Regions from separate parts of the Homo sapiens genome. Here region 2 is linked to region 1. Evidence: promoter capture Hi-C in 16 types of primary human blood cells and fetal thymus (Javierre and others, 2016). All regions are on one chromosome and are shown on one strand. The core of a region is centred on a gene start or on the middle of the fragment in contact, and the rest is flanking DNA. Distances in the headings are between cores, read along the strand shown.

Region 1 (7,915 bases), core at 3,230-5,729:
TTTTACTTCTTCAATTTCAATAGCTAGTCAATTACCAAGTCCTATTGATTCTACTTCCTGTATCTTTCATAAATCCATTTTTTCCATTTCCACTGTCACTACCGAGTCCAAAATACCATCTCTTTTAGAACTACTATTATAGCCTCCTATCTGGCCCCTCTCACACAATATTGACCGCTTCCCAAGGTGCCTTTTTATCTTCCCAGTATTCTTTTGAAGCATTCATTTAACTGTGTTATCCCATTATTCAAAAATAAAACACAATTGAAACTAAGGTCTAAACTCTTTCCTGTCACCTGAAGGCTTAAGTTAATCAAGCCCCCTCCTACCTCTCTGGTCTTAATTCACAACTTTCCCCACCTCTCCTAAATGTTTCATTCCTAACCTATATGTCTGCCTTTTTGTATCCTTTCAGTTGCCTGCTCTCAGAGACTGCACATACTGTTTTCTCTACTTGGAATGCACTTTCCTCTTCCTCTTTGACTAGCTCAGCAGCTCTCAAGTGTTTGACTAACTACATCAAAATTATCCAAGTGCTTTTCCTTTTTAAAATTGAATCCTGGACGCTACTTAAGAGCTCCTAGGTCAAATTTCCAGAAGTGGAAACTAGAGATACATCTTCTTAAAAGCTCCCCAAGATAACTCTGACATGCAACCAGGTGTGGAAATCACTGTTAGTCAACAATCAGGCCTCAGCTTCAAGCTCACTTTTTCAGGAAACACTACAGACTTAAAAAGCTGGTGGCACTACAAAGCTTCTCATGGCAACCTGTATTTTTCCTTCATAGCATATATCATGTTATTGAAGTTCTTGTGAAATCACTTAGTACCTACCGCCTCTCAAATAACGTAAGTTTTACAAATTAAGATTCTACCTAGAATGTTTGGTCATGAAAGCTTTTCAATAAGAGAGTTTTACATAAACAAAAAACTCTTACTCTAGCAGTTTACAGATTTTGGTAATATGAGCAAAAGTTGTAATTTTTACTTTCTAAAGGCTGTATCAAATAAATCACTTTTAAAGATTAGTGTGTTCAATATTTATAGCATGGAACATTTCAATTTAAGAGCTTTACTAGTGATATGTTGGGAAAGTCTCAAGTGCTCCAAGTAGGACTTTCCTAAGATAGGTCGTTCCCTTATAAAACCAAGGATCCCAAGTATCATAAGTTTGACTCACCTTCTGTAGTTTTTTAAAGGATGAAGCCTTCATGTTTTCTGACAACTTAACTGAAAAATACTATTATTTTCATTAAGGAACAAATGAGCAATTAAGATGAAAGATGATATCAAATGTTCTGAATTCATGTATAATTTCAAAAACAAGGTTAGAATGTATGGATATATATAGGAAAGATAAGAAATGAATTTCCAGGGGCTGGGCGTGGTGGCTCACACCTGCAAACCCAGCACTTCGGGGGGCCAAGGCGGATGGATCACTTGAGGCCAGGAGTTTGAGACCATCCTGGCCAACATGGTGAAACCCCACCTCCACCAAAAATACAAAAATCAGCCGGGCATGGTGGCGCTCACCTGTAATCTCAGCTACTTGAAAGGCTGAGGCACGAGAATTGCTCGAACCCAGGAGGCGGAGGTTGTAGTGAGATGAGATCGTGCCACTGCACTCCACCCTGGGCAACAGAGTGAGTCTCTGTCAAAAAAAAAAAAAAAAAGGAAAAAAGAAAGGAAGGAAGGGAGGAAGGGAGGGAGGGAAGAAGGCAGGGAAAGAGCAAGAGAGAGAAAGAAAGAGAGAGAGAAAGAGAGAGAAAGAAAGAAAGAGAGAAAGAGAAAAAGAGAGAGAGAGAAAGGAAGGAAGGAGTTTCCAGAGTAGTGGGGGCACCAAACAACTTCTAATTCTACATTTCCAGTGGCACCACTACATCCAAATCAGCCAACTTAATCCTGTAGTACTTATCCAAATGGCCATCATTAATAGAATTTTCCAAAAAAAAAGTCACCGTTCTAGGGTCTGTCATTTTAATATCTATGGATGAATACATTCTCCCCTTGATTCTCCTTCATGGTCCAATCTGTAGCAATCCTGTCTAATTTAATGAAGCAACAACTTTAATTTATACTTAACTGCCTCCTCAGAAAAATGCAAATAGCAACCTTTGAATATTATCAGGCCTTCCAATGAAAAAGGATACAAAATCTCTGAGTTGTCCAAATATTTCATCCACTTTTCCAATTTGTTCTTTGTTTTCTAAGTAAACAGGAGCATTGAAATAAGGCACCTTATTTTCATCTGTGGTACATTTACAAACTATGTCATCTTCACAGGGATGCAGGAACTCTCCTAATACTGAAACAGGACAAGAAAATGTTAAAACATAGAACTATTTCAAACGATACTGACCAACTGCTTCTGGAAGCTTTCTTTTTGGCTACCTGGGACTTCACCATAACTGCTCTCCTCTGAGGCAGAAGACCACAGTCTTAGGACTTCCTGGGCTGGTATACCAACTCCACAACACACTAGCTATTTGACCTAGGAGAAGTTACCCACCCTCTCTCTAATTCAGTGTCTCATTTTTAGTATGCACTAATAACATATAATGTATAGCTATACCTAATATACAGTAATGTAAGCACTCAATGGAATAACAAATGTCAAGTGCTTAGAACAGTGCCTGGCACACTGACACCATTCAACCTGTAACAGTTATGTTATTACAACTTATTATCTGATTCAAAACTCTGCTTCATTCTCTTGGTTCTCCCTTTTCTTCAATGCCTAACAGAATCAGCCTTCATTCTTTTTTTTTTTCTCTTGCCTTAGAACTTTTCCATTCCCACTACCACCTCTTTAACAATGATTCATTGTTTTCAAGGACATCTGGAATCTCAAAATAACTACCTTTATTTCTAACTAGACTGTCACCCCAAACTAAAATACCACATTCCTGCAAAACCAAGTCTTCATTCCTATCACCCAAGCTCAAAACCTGGAACCCTTTATTATCAGCATTAGCTAAGTTCTACCGATTTTGTTTCCTTTGAAATCTCTCTCCTATCTAACCCTTCCTTTTTTTTCCTCACTGTCACCATCCTGATTCAGGCTCTCAAGGTCTCATGTATGGACTGGTACAACAGCTTGTGGGCTGGGACCTTTTATTCTAGAAACTGCTCCTTTCAAACCATCCTGCATACTCATCCAAGCCATTCTTAGTTAGACACTACTCACCCTCTCTCCTCTTTAATGTAGTAAGTTTCACTTTCTGTGACTTCCATTCCCATCTCATTGTTAATTACTCTAAAACTACCCTAAATAGGTGTTTTTCTAGATTTCCTCTCTGGCAGTTTCCCTCTCAAGCAAATTGTTTTCTCACTTATCTACTTTTGAGTAGTAACAGAAAGCATGGGCTTTGGAGTCAGAATACTTGGCTTTGTATTTCTTTCTTTTCTGTACAGACAGGGTCTCCTGCTTTATTATCCAGGCTGGTCTCTAACTCCCGGCTTCAAAAGATCCTCCCGTCTTAGCTTCCCAAAGTGTTGGGATTACAGGCGTGAGCCACCGCACCCAGCCTGTATTTCAGCTATATCACTAATTGATCACTTATCACTAACCTTATGACCCCAGCAAAAAAACTTAACTCTAAATCATAGTTTTCTCATCTGTAAAATCGGGGAATTAGGCATAAGTACTCACGATTACCTATTTAATATCTTCCTGTCAACCCTCAAGTTCCACCTCCAAGATGCATTCTAAGTATCCCTCAGCTTTCTTGATCTCCCCACTCCACCCTTACATGCTACATTCTCCACACAGGCTTGTGTATCCCAAACTTGCTGCCTAACAACACAAACCCCCAACCCACACCTACTCCTTCAAATAAGCTAAATACTGAAGACTGCATACAGACTACACGTTCTGGAGGTCCTTGGTCTTGGCCTTTGTTAAAGCCTCCGCGGCCACCCCCTCGTCCAAATCCTCCCCTGCCGCCGCCTCTGAAATTGCCGCCGCCTCCACCGCCGCCTCCACCTCGGAAGTGGTTGCTGCTGCCACCTCGGTTGAAGCCGCCACCTCCACCACCTCGATTAAAGCCTCCACGACCTCCGCCTCGAAAAGACATTCTCTCTCCTCCCTGATGAAAAAAAAACGACCTATGTCTTCTGATCACTGTAGCCTCTGAGTATACTCCAACCCCTCGGAGCTGCGGTGAGAACACCATAAAGGAGACAAAAGCAGCCCTGTCACCTCACCCACGGTCAGACAGCCAGTGACCACCAACCTGATGGGTGAAGAGTTTACTTCTCCATGGTCTCGTGAGCGCCGACCGACCACACACCACCCTTGCCGCCCCATGATTAGTATCTCCTCCCCCTACAGACAGCAAGGTCTTCGCACCGCATCCCCTTCCTTCCTCCCTCCCTCCGGCAGTTGGGTTCCACGTCCAGCATTTTCAAATCCTCCGGCTTCTACGGCCACTCACCGGCGCCACGTGCCCCTCTGGCCCTGGCCTTGCGCACACACCCACCCGCGGGGTACTTCCGCCGCGCTGGAACCTCCTCGGTTACCGTACCGCCACAGAGTTTTTTAAAGACCAGAAACTTGAATAACTGGTTTGCCAAAAAAAAAAGCCAATCACCCGCGGAACAAGCAACACTGGTTCCAAAACAGCCTTTAGCGCTGGAAAAGTGGCAATAATAGATAACCTTAACCACTAATTTACAACAGAGAGGCCAACTTGCCTGACGCTGAGCCGTGGAAGTGACGTATAACAGCGGCGTCCTTTGCAGCACGACGTCCCGGAAGTGCTGCGGCAATGTTGCTCTTGGAGATAGCTGGCGTTAGGGATCCGCCTTCTCTCCCAGAGGCGGGGCAGGTTTCTGTTTGGTTGCCGCCCTAACGGCCAGAACTAAAGCACCTTGCAAGGAATGAAGTTGGTTCTTGAAGTCCGTGCTGACTGGCTGGGCGCATTTGCGCATTTGCTTCTCTGGCTGCAAAATGGCCCGCAACAGCACTCACTAATTTGTTGCTAACTTCAGGAACTGTGCGGACAGGTCTCTGAGGCTTCTGAGCCGCGCTATGTCCAGTAGATCTGGGCGCCTCAGAACCTGTCACAGCCGACGGAAGCGTTTATCTGAGTTTCTTGTTTCTTCCCAACCTTTTGATTTTCGCACCATTACGCGCTCAACTATGCCTCTTCTTTTGTCCTATGGTCTCAACTAATTAAAGGAAGAAAAGCAATGCATGTGTGTGTGTAATTTTAAAGAAACTATGCTGTCTTATAGAAAACCAAACCATCATTTTTATCTTTTGTACCAGGTATTCAAGTATGTTTTGAGCACCGACGGGCTGTGAACTGGACTGTGCTGAAAGCTCCTCTCCCTCTTCTCTCTTTAAGCCCTTTATATTTGACATCAGCTTCCCCCACATTCTCCAAAGCTTCTCTCACAAATAAAGGTAATGACTTCCCATTTATTAAATTTGGTTGGAGTCTTTTACACCCAAACCCTCTGAGACCTTACCTTGATATTTGATCTCGTGTTTAGAAGAGGGTGGAACTTGGTACCTATCTAATTCAGAGGGTTATTGTAAATGGGATTTTAAAATACCTTTGTAGGCGGGGCGTGGTGGCTCACGCCTGTAATCCCAGCACTTTGGGAGGCCAAGGCAGATGGATCACTTGAGATCAGGAGTTCGAGACCAGCCTGGCCAATACGGTGAAACCCCTTCTCTACTAAAAATACAAAAATCAGCCGGGCATGGTGGCACACGCCTGTAATCGCAGCTACTCGGGAGGCTGAGGCAGGAGAATCGCTTGAACCCGGGAGGCGGAGGTTGCCGTGAGCCGAGATCACGCCACTGCACTCCAGCCTGGACGACAGAGCAAGGCTTGGTCTCAAAACAAACAAAAAACAAAATAAGTGAGAGAGGAAACTTTACTTGTTCTTTTTCTTTTAGTTTAGTAAATGCTGCAATTTGATTTTAACGAATGTTGGTCTTTTTATGGGCCTATATAAGTGTATTATTTTTGAAACAAAAAATGAAAATTACCTATTTAGTATGAAACCTTTGCTTATCTTTTGCTGTGTATTTGCTCAATTCTGAATTGAACTTGAGATTGTCACACACAGATTGCATTTTCAACTGAAATGAGATGATTTTTGTCTTTACTCTTAAAACTTAGTGAGAAAAAGCTTGCTTGAACAAGAAGTTTTAAAGTATGTCAAAATGTTTATTACTTTCTTAAAAATGTCAAGCTGCTCTTCTTTCTCAGAAATCCAAAACTTGTAGAAGCACAGATCAGGCCAGGTGCTGTGGCTGACGCCTGTAATCCCAGCATTTTGGGAGGCTGAGGCAGGCAGATCACCTGTGGTCAGGAGTTCAAGACCAGCCTGGCCAACATGGTGAAACCCTGTCTCTACTAAAAATACAAAACTTAGCCGGGCGTGGTGGCGGGCGCCTGTAATCCTAGCTATTTGGGAGGCTGAGGCAGGAGAATCGCTTGAACCCGGGAGGCGGAGATTGCAGTGAGCCAAGATTGCGCCACTGCATTCCAGCCTGGGCAACAGAGCAAGACTCCGTCTCAAAAAAAAAAAAAAAAAAAAAAAGAAGGAGAAACACAAATAAGTACATTTCATCTTATATCTACAGTCATACATTCACAAAGTTCTTCCTCTTTTCTCAAAGCCAGGTGCTCAGGCTGAGAAGATTCAAGGAAAGGGTTCCTCACGTAGTTATACAGTTGTGTTCCAGGGGAAGGAAAATATTGTTCGGTTTTGTTCTGCAATTCCCCACGGTGGTTTTCGGTAAGACTTGAGACTTCCTTATTCTAAAGTCCAAGCAGCAGTGGAAACATTTCAAGATCCCTTTTTGCAATATAACTTTTCCAAAGATTCAATATTTATTTAAACCCAAAAATCTTGTCACTCGAAGTAAAACGATTTTCTCCAGGGCCTGAAGATCCTTGTTCAACTAGTTCATGTGATGAAAATGTCTGTTAAGTAGGTGATATGGTTTGGATGTTTGTTCCCTCCAAATCTCATGCTGAAATTTGATTCCCAGTGTCGTAGATGGGACCTCGTGGGAGGTGATTGGATCATGGGGGCAGAATTCTCATGAATGGCTTAGCACCATCCCCTTGGTGATAAGTGAGTTTTCACTCAGTTCACTTGAGATGTGGTTGTTTTAAGAGTCTGTGACCTCTTCTATTTCTCTCTTGCTCCCACTCTTGCCATGTGACATGCTGGCTCCCCATCACCTTCCGCCATGATTGTAAGCTTCTAGAGACCTCACCAGAAACTGATGCCAGCACCATGCTTCCTGTAAAGCCTCCAGAACCATAAGCCAATTAAACCTCTTTCTTTATAAATTACCTAGCCTTGGGCATTTCTTTACAGCAATGCAAAAAAAAACAAAAATGCTGGTTTCCACAGCCATTCTTTATCTTCAAAGAATTTGGTAAAATCTGGGCTACTGTTTTCTTGAATGTATTTCTGTGATTCACTTTCTAGGTCAAGCGTCCTGTTAAGGAGCAGAATCTGTATTACCTTCTCTCACTCCAATCCGTAGTGTCAATAAACATTATTTTGTGTAATTTCTGTAGGTCAGAAATTAAGGAGCAGCTTAGCTGGATGATTTTGACCCAGGGTCTCTCATAAGGTTGCAGTCAAGGTATCACCTGGGGCTGCAGTCCACTGAAGACTTGACTAGGGCTGGAGGATCCTTTTCTGAGGGAGCTCACTGACATGCCTAGCAAGCTGATGCTGCCTACTGCCAGCCCCAGTTCCTTGCCATACAGACCTCTTTACAGGGTGCTTGAGTACTGACATGACATGCCAGCTGGATTCCCCCAAAATGATCTGCTAAGCCATAAGATTTACGCATGTGGAAGGAGATTTATATGGGCCTTGTCCAGGTTTTCACATAGTTTAAAAAAAAAAATTTTTAGAAGTGAATTGCATT
Region 2 (4,424 bases), core at 1,925-4,424, 4.1 Mb after region 1:
CACTTGATTGGTTTGGAATCGGAGCCTTTTCTCCTGCGATTCCAGGTGTCCCTAAGGTATCAGTGTTATCCAGAACCAAGAACTCAGTGGAGGAATGAAAAAGGCAGCATCTTTAAAATAATGTTTATTGGAAGGGGTTGCAAGAGCTTGCGAAGTCATGAAGAACAAAGTTTTTTAGAGCCATTATGAAATGGCAACGATAATACTGCACTCTATGTGAACAGTTTCTGTTTCCTTCATCTGGGGCACGTGCATATGATCAACTTTGGACTTCTTTTGAGATTGCCAGGTAGGGTGAAAAATGGATCTAGGAGAAAGCACATACTTATATTTATATATGAATGCCCAATTTAGACTGGAGAGATCACAGAAGCCTTATAAGGTGACATTTACGCAAAAAACCTAGTTCGTTCATTCGATAAATATTTTTGAGCCCTTATTAAGTTTCAAGCACTAGGGAAATAACAGTGAACAAAACAAGTTCCTGCTGTCATCAAGTTTACAGACCAGTGGGATTAATGAATTAAGCAAGACAGGCGAAAGATTGTGAGAATTTTACAGATAGGAACATTGTACTACAAGTCCCCAGTCGTGAAAGAGGTGATTGCTTTGCTTTTGCTTTTTTGATGTTTGGAGTTTTTTTTGTGGGGGCAGGGGTGAGTTACTTTTGTGATTTTTGCTGAAGGGACCTTGGAAATGGCTACAATTGTGTAGAAGGAGAGATAAGACCACTATACTTTGATCACTTAATTCCAGTAATTCTATAGCCATTATTTTGTTGTACTTTGCAAAGTGGCAAAGAGATAGGCAAAAAGATAAATATAGACTCTGCCCTTAAAGTACTCAGAGTTTTGTAGGGGACATAACACTTGTGCCAAAAAAAAAAAAAAATGCTTCAAGGGAGAAAGTTGCAATACCATGAAAAAGCACTATGAGATATCCTTGAATGGAGAGACTATTAATAGGGTTTGGAATGGAGAGGGGCACAGCAGCTGTCAGTCAAATCTTCATGAGAAGTATTTGAATAGGGTCTTGATAGGATGTAGATATATAAAAATAGGTAAAGAGCTTCCTGGACAAAAAAAATAAGAGTGGCAGGGTCAGCTAGCTATAAGGCAGATCTGGGGATGATGAATGATAATTTTTGTGCCAGTTACTGAATCTTCTTAAATGCTAGGCCAAGAAATTTGGTCTTTATTTCGAAGGTGGTAGAAAGCCCTAACTTCTCAGCAAGAATTTTTTTTTTTATTTTAATGAAAAAGAAGAAAACTGGGTTTCAGGAAAATTCATATGGCAACAATGTTGAAGTCAAGGAAAATAACGAGGTTATTGCCATAGTTCAAGTAAGCTAATAAAACCTGAATTTCAGTAGTAGCAGTGGAAGTGAAAAGTAGGACAAGTGTGAAAAATATTGCCGTCAGAATCCACAGGAATTCTGATTATTTGAATATAAGGAGTAGGGAAAGACTCAGTGAAGGAAAGACTTTGGTCTCAAACCTGACTAAAAGAAAGTTGTGTCATTTATTGAAAGTAAGAGCAGGACAAGGAACTTTTCGGGAAGATAATCAGAATCTCAATTTTAGTTGTAACTGAATTTGAGATGCCATTAAGGAATCACATAGACACATACACTAAGCATTTGGAAACATGGGATTCAAATTTAAGAGATTTGGCTCGCACTTGTAATCCCAGCACTTTGGGAAGCCACAACAGGAGGATTGTTTGAGACCAGATAAGAGCAACATAGCAAGACCCTGGCTCTACTTAAAAAACAACAAAATTACCTGGGCATGGTTACGGTGGTGCATGCCTGTAGTCCTAGCTGCTTGGGAGGCTGAGGCAGGAGGATCACTTGAGCCCAGGAGTTCGAGGCTGCAGTGAGCCATGATCTCAGTGCACTCCAACCTGGGTGACAGAGCAAGACCATGTCTCAAAAAAAAAAAAAAAAAAAAAGAGATTGAAGTTGGGGTAAAACATATTAAATCATCTACCCAGAGATGATAGTTGAAAACCTGATGTGTATAAGATTACCAAGAAGAAACTGCTAGCAGAACTAAGAAGATAGCCAAGGACAAATACTTGGACAATACCAAAAGCAACAAAGAAGATAAGCCAAAGAAAGAGTAGTCAGAGATAGAAGAGGAAAAACAGAAAAGTTGAGTATAACAGAACTCAAGGGAAGAGAAAGTTTTATGAAATTGGAAGTAGATAACAAGTATTTACTTGGCCAACATTTACAGTTATTTGCTGTTTTCCAGGAACTCTGCCAGACAGGGGTTACAACAGTAGGCAAGACCAATCCACTGCCTGCCTTCATGGAACTTACATTCTAATGAGAAAGAAAGATTATTTACATAATTAACAGTGTGATTAATATTACAAATAAGTACAGAATGTTTTTGGGCTATGTAACAGTGAAACTTCTAGTTTTGTTGAGGGAATGTGCAGGAAAAACTGAAACTTGAGAGGTGACTTAAGATGGAGGTGGGGGTGGCACACTTTCTACTGAAGTGCTAAGGTAAGAAAGAGTATATTGGAGGACTTGAAATAAGTCAGATAGCTATAACAGAGAGAGTGAGAATGGCCTAAGATACTAGGTAACATTTAATGAGTGTCAACTATGTGTCAGGTACTGTTGTAACTGCTTTATATGTATTATTAATCATGTAGAGCAATGGTCCACAACCTTTTTGGCACCAGGGACCAGTTTCATTGAAGACATGGTTTCAGGATGATTCAAGTGCATTACATTTATTGTGCACTTTATTTCTCTTATTACTACATGGTAATATATAATAAAATAATTGGACAACTCACCATAATGTAGAATCAGTGGGAACCTTGAGCTTGCTTTCCTGCAGCTAGACGGTTTCATCTGGGGATGATGGGGTATACTGTGACAGATCATCAGGCATTAGATTCTCATGAGGAGCACACAACGTAGATCACACACATGCACAGTTCACATAGGATTCGCATTCCTATGAGAATCTAATTCCACCAGTGATGTGACAGGAGGCAGAGCTCAGGTAGTAATGCAAGTGATGGGAGTGGCTGTAAATACAAATGAAGCTTCCCTCGCTTGCCTACTGCTCACCTCCTGCTGCATGGCCTGAAGGTTAGGGACCCCTGATGTAGAGAATTGGAGACCTTGTTAAGAATCTTATTCTTGAACCTTTGGATTGTGAGAAGTGATAAAAGGATTTTAAGCAAGTGAGTGATATGAAAAGGTTTAAAGGGATGACAAGAGTGATTGTGGGAGACTGATTAAGCTTTTGCAGTGGGCCAGATAATAGATGATGCTAGGTTGGTCTAGGGTGGTAGTAGTAAGGATTGAAAAGGGTGGATAGATTTGAGGTATGTTTAAGAGGTTTGGTTATTGAATTGGGGGTGGGAATTAAGGAAGTGGGAAGAGTTAAAGCTGCTTCTGGGTTACTGGCTTGGGCAATAGGGTAAATATCATTTGAAAAAGGGATTACTAGAGGAAGAACTGGTTAGGAGAAAAGGGAATAGTGTATGAGTGGCTCTGTTGGAGACACGTTGCATAGGAGGCACCAATGATATATCCATGTCAAGCTGGCAGTTGGATCTTGGGAGAGACACATGGACTGCAGAGATGTATTAGTAATCACTGGCAAAAGACTATATAGATCAAATTGTCTAGGGCAATAATTCCCAAACTTTAGAGTAGATAGAATTGCCTGGAAGGCTTAACACAGATTTCTAGACCCTACTCCCAGAGTTTTTTCTTCAGTAGGCCTAGGAATGGAGACCAAGAGTTTGTATTTCTAAGTTCTGACGTGATACCTATGCTGCTGACTCAGAGAACACATTTTTGGAAGAAGATGTAGAACAAGTCAAGAAGAGACCCAGAACCTAGCACTGAGGAACTCATTTTTAATTGGATAGGAGGAACCTACAAAGATGACTGACAAAGAAGTAGGAGGGACAATCGTATGTATTAGGTTTACCTGACTGAGGCGGCGAATGACTCATGAGAGCATTTTCATGGAATAGTGGGACAAAGGCTGAATTGCAAGAATTGCTGTGTAAATAGAAGGAATGAAGAAAAAGAGTACAAAAGCATATGATTTCTGAGAACGTTTTGCTATAAAAGAGAAAAGATAGAAGATGTTTGAATATATTTAATGTCAATGAAAAGATGCCAGTAGAAAGGCTGAAAAAAAAAAAAAGAAGATATGGGAAATAATCCATAGGCCAAGGTTCAAGAGGGGACAAGAAGAGATAGGATCCAGATCCAGGTGACACTACATAGAGAGCTACCTTCTCCTTTTTTATCAGATGGGAAAGAGGAAAGGATGAGTGCAGGTAAGTTTGTAGATGTGCTGGAAGGAAGTCGACTTAATTCCTCTCTGACAGCCTCTCTTTGTGAAGTAGGTGAGGCCATCTACTGAAACACAGAA

What was found. Contacts are between HindIII fragments. The CHiCAGO score rates a contact against its expected background, and 5 or more counts as called.
Region 2: a contact is called between a fragment that was not itself captured here and the fragment with the promoter of GAR1 in region 1, in 1 of 17 cell types (total B cells). The highest score is 7.7, in total B cells.

The regions. Positions count from the first base shown.
Region 1 is chr4:109,812,326-109,820,240 of GRCh38, reverse strand. GAR1 (GAR1 ribonucleoprotein) reads right to left here and starts at 4,479. Exons shown (of 7, transcript NM_018983.4): 1 at 4,437-4,479; 2 at 3,863-4,088; 3 at 2,151-2,305; 4 at 1,181-1,240. The coding sequence starts at 4,076. It overlaps GAR1-DT (GAR1 divergent transcript), which reads left to right and starts at 4,859. Exons shown (of 2, transcript NR_186620.1): 1 at 4,859-5,410; 2 at 6,641-7,322. RefSeq lists enhancers at 3,734-3,803, 3,974-4,023, 4,374-4,423, 4,434-4,833, 5,004-5,103. The HindIII fragment of the contact is 3,017 bases long and covers 2,378-5,394 here.
Region 2 is chr4:105,703,784-105,708,207 of GRCh38, reverse strand. It overlaps INTS12 (integrator complex subunit 12), which reads left to right. Exons shown (of 8, transcript NM_020395.4): 2 at 4,399-4,424. It overlaps LOC124900748 (a long non-coding RNA gene), which reads right to left. Exons shown (of 3, transcript XR_007058215.1): 2 at 2,818-2,894; 3 at 2,234-2,329. It overlaps LOC124900747 (a long non-coding RNA gene), which reads right to left and starts at 1,826. Exons shown (of 2, transcript XR_007058214.1): 1 at 1,785-1,826; 2 at 112-307. The HindIII fragment of the contact is 200 bases long and covers 3,075-3,274 here.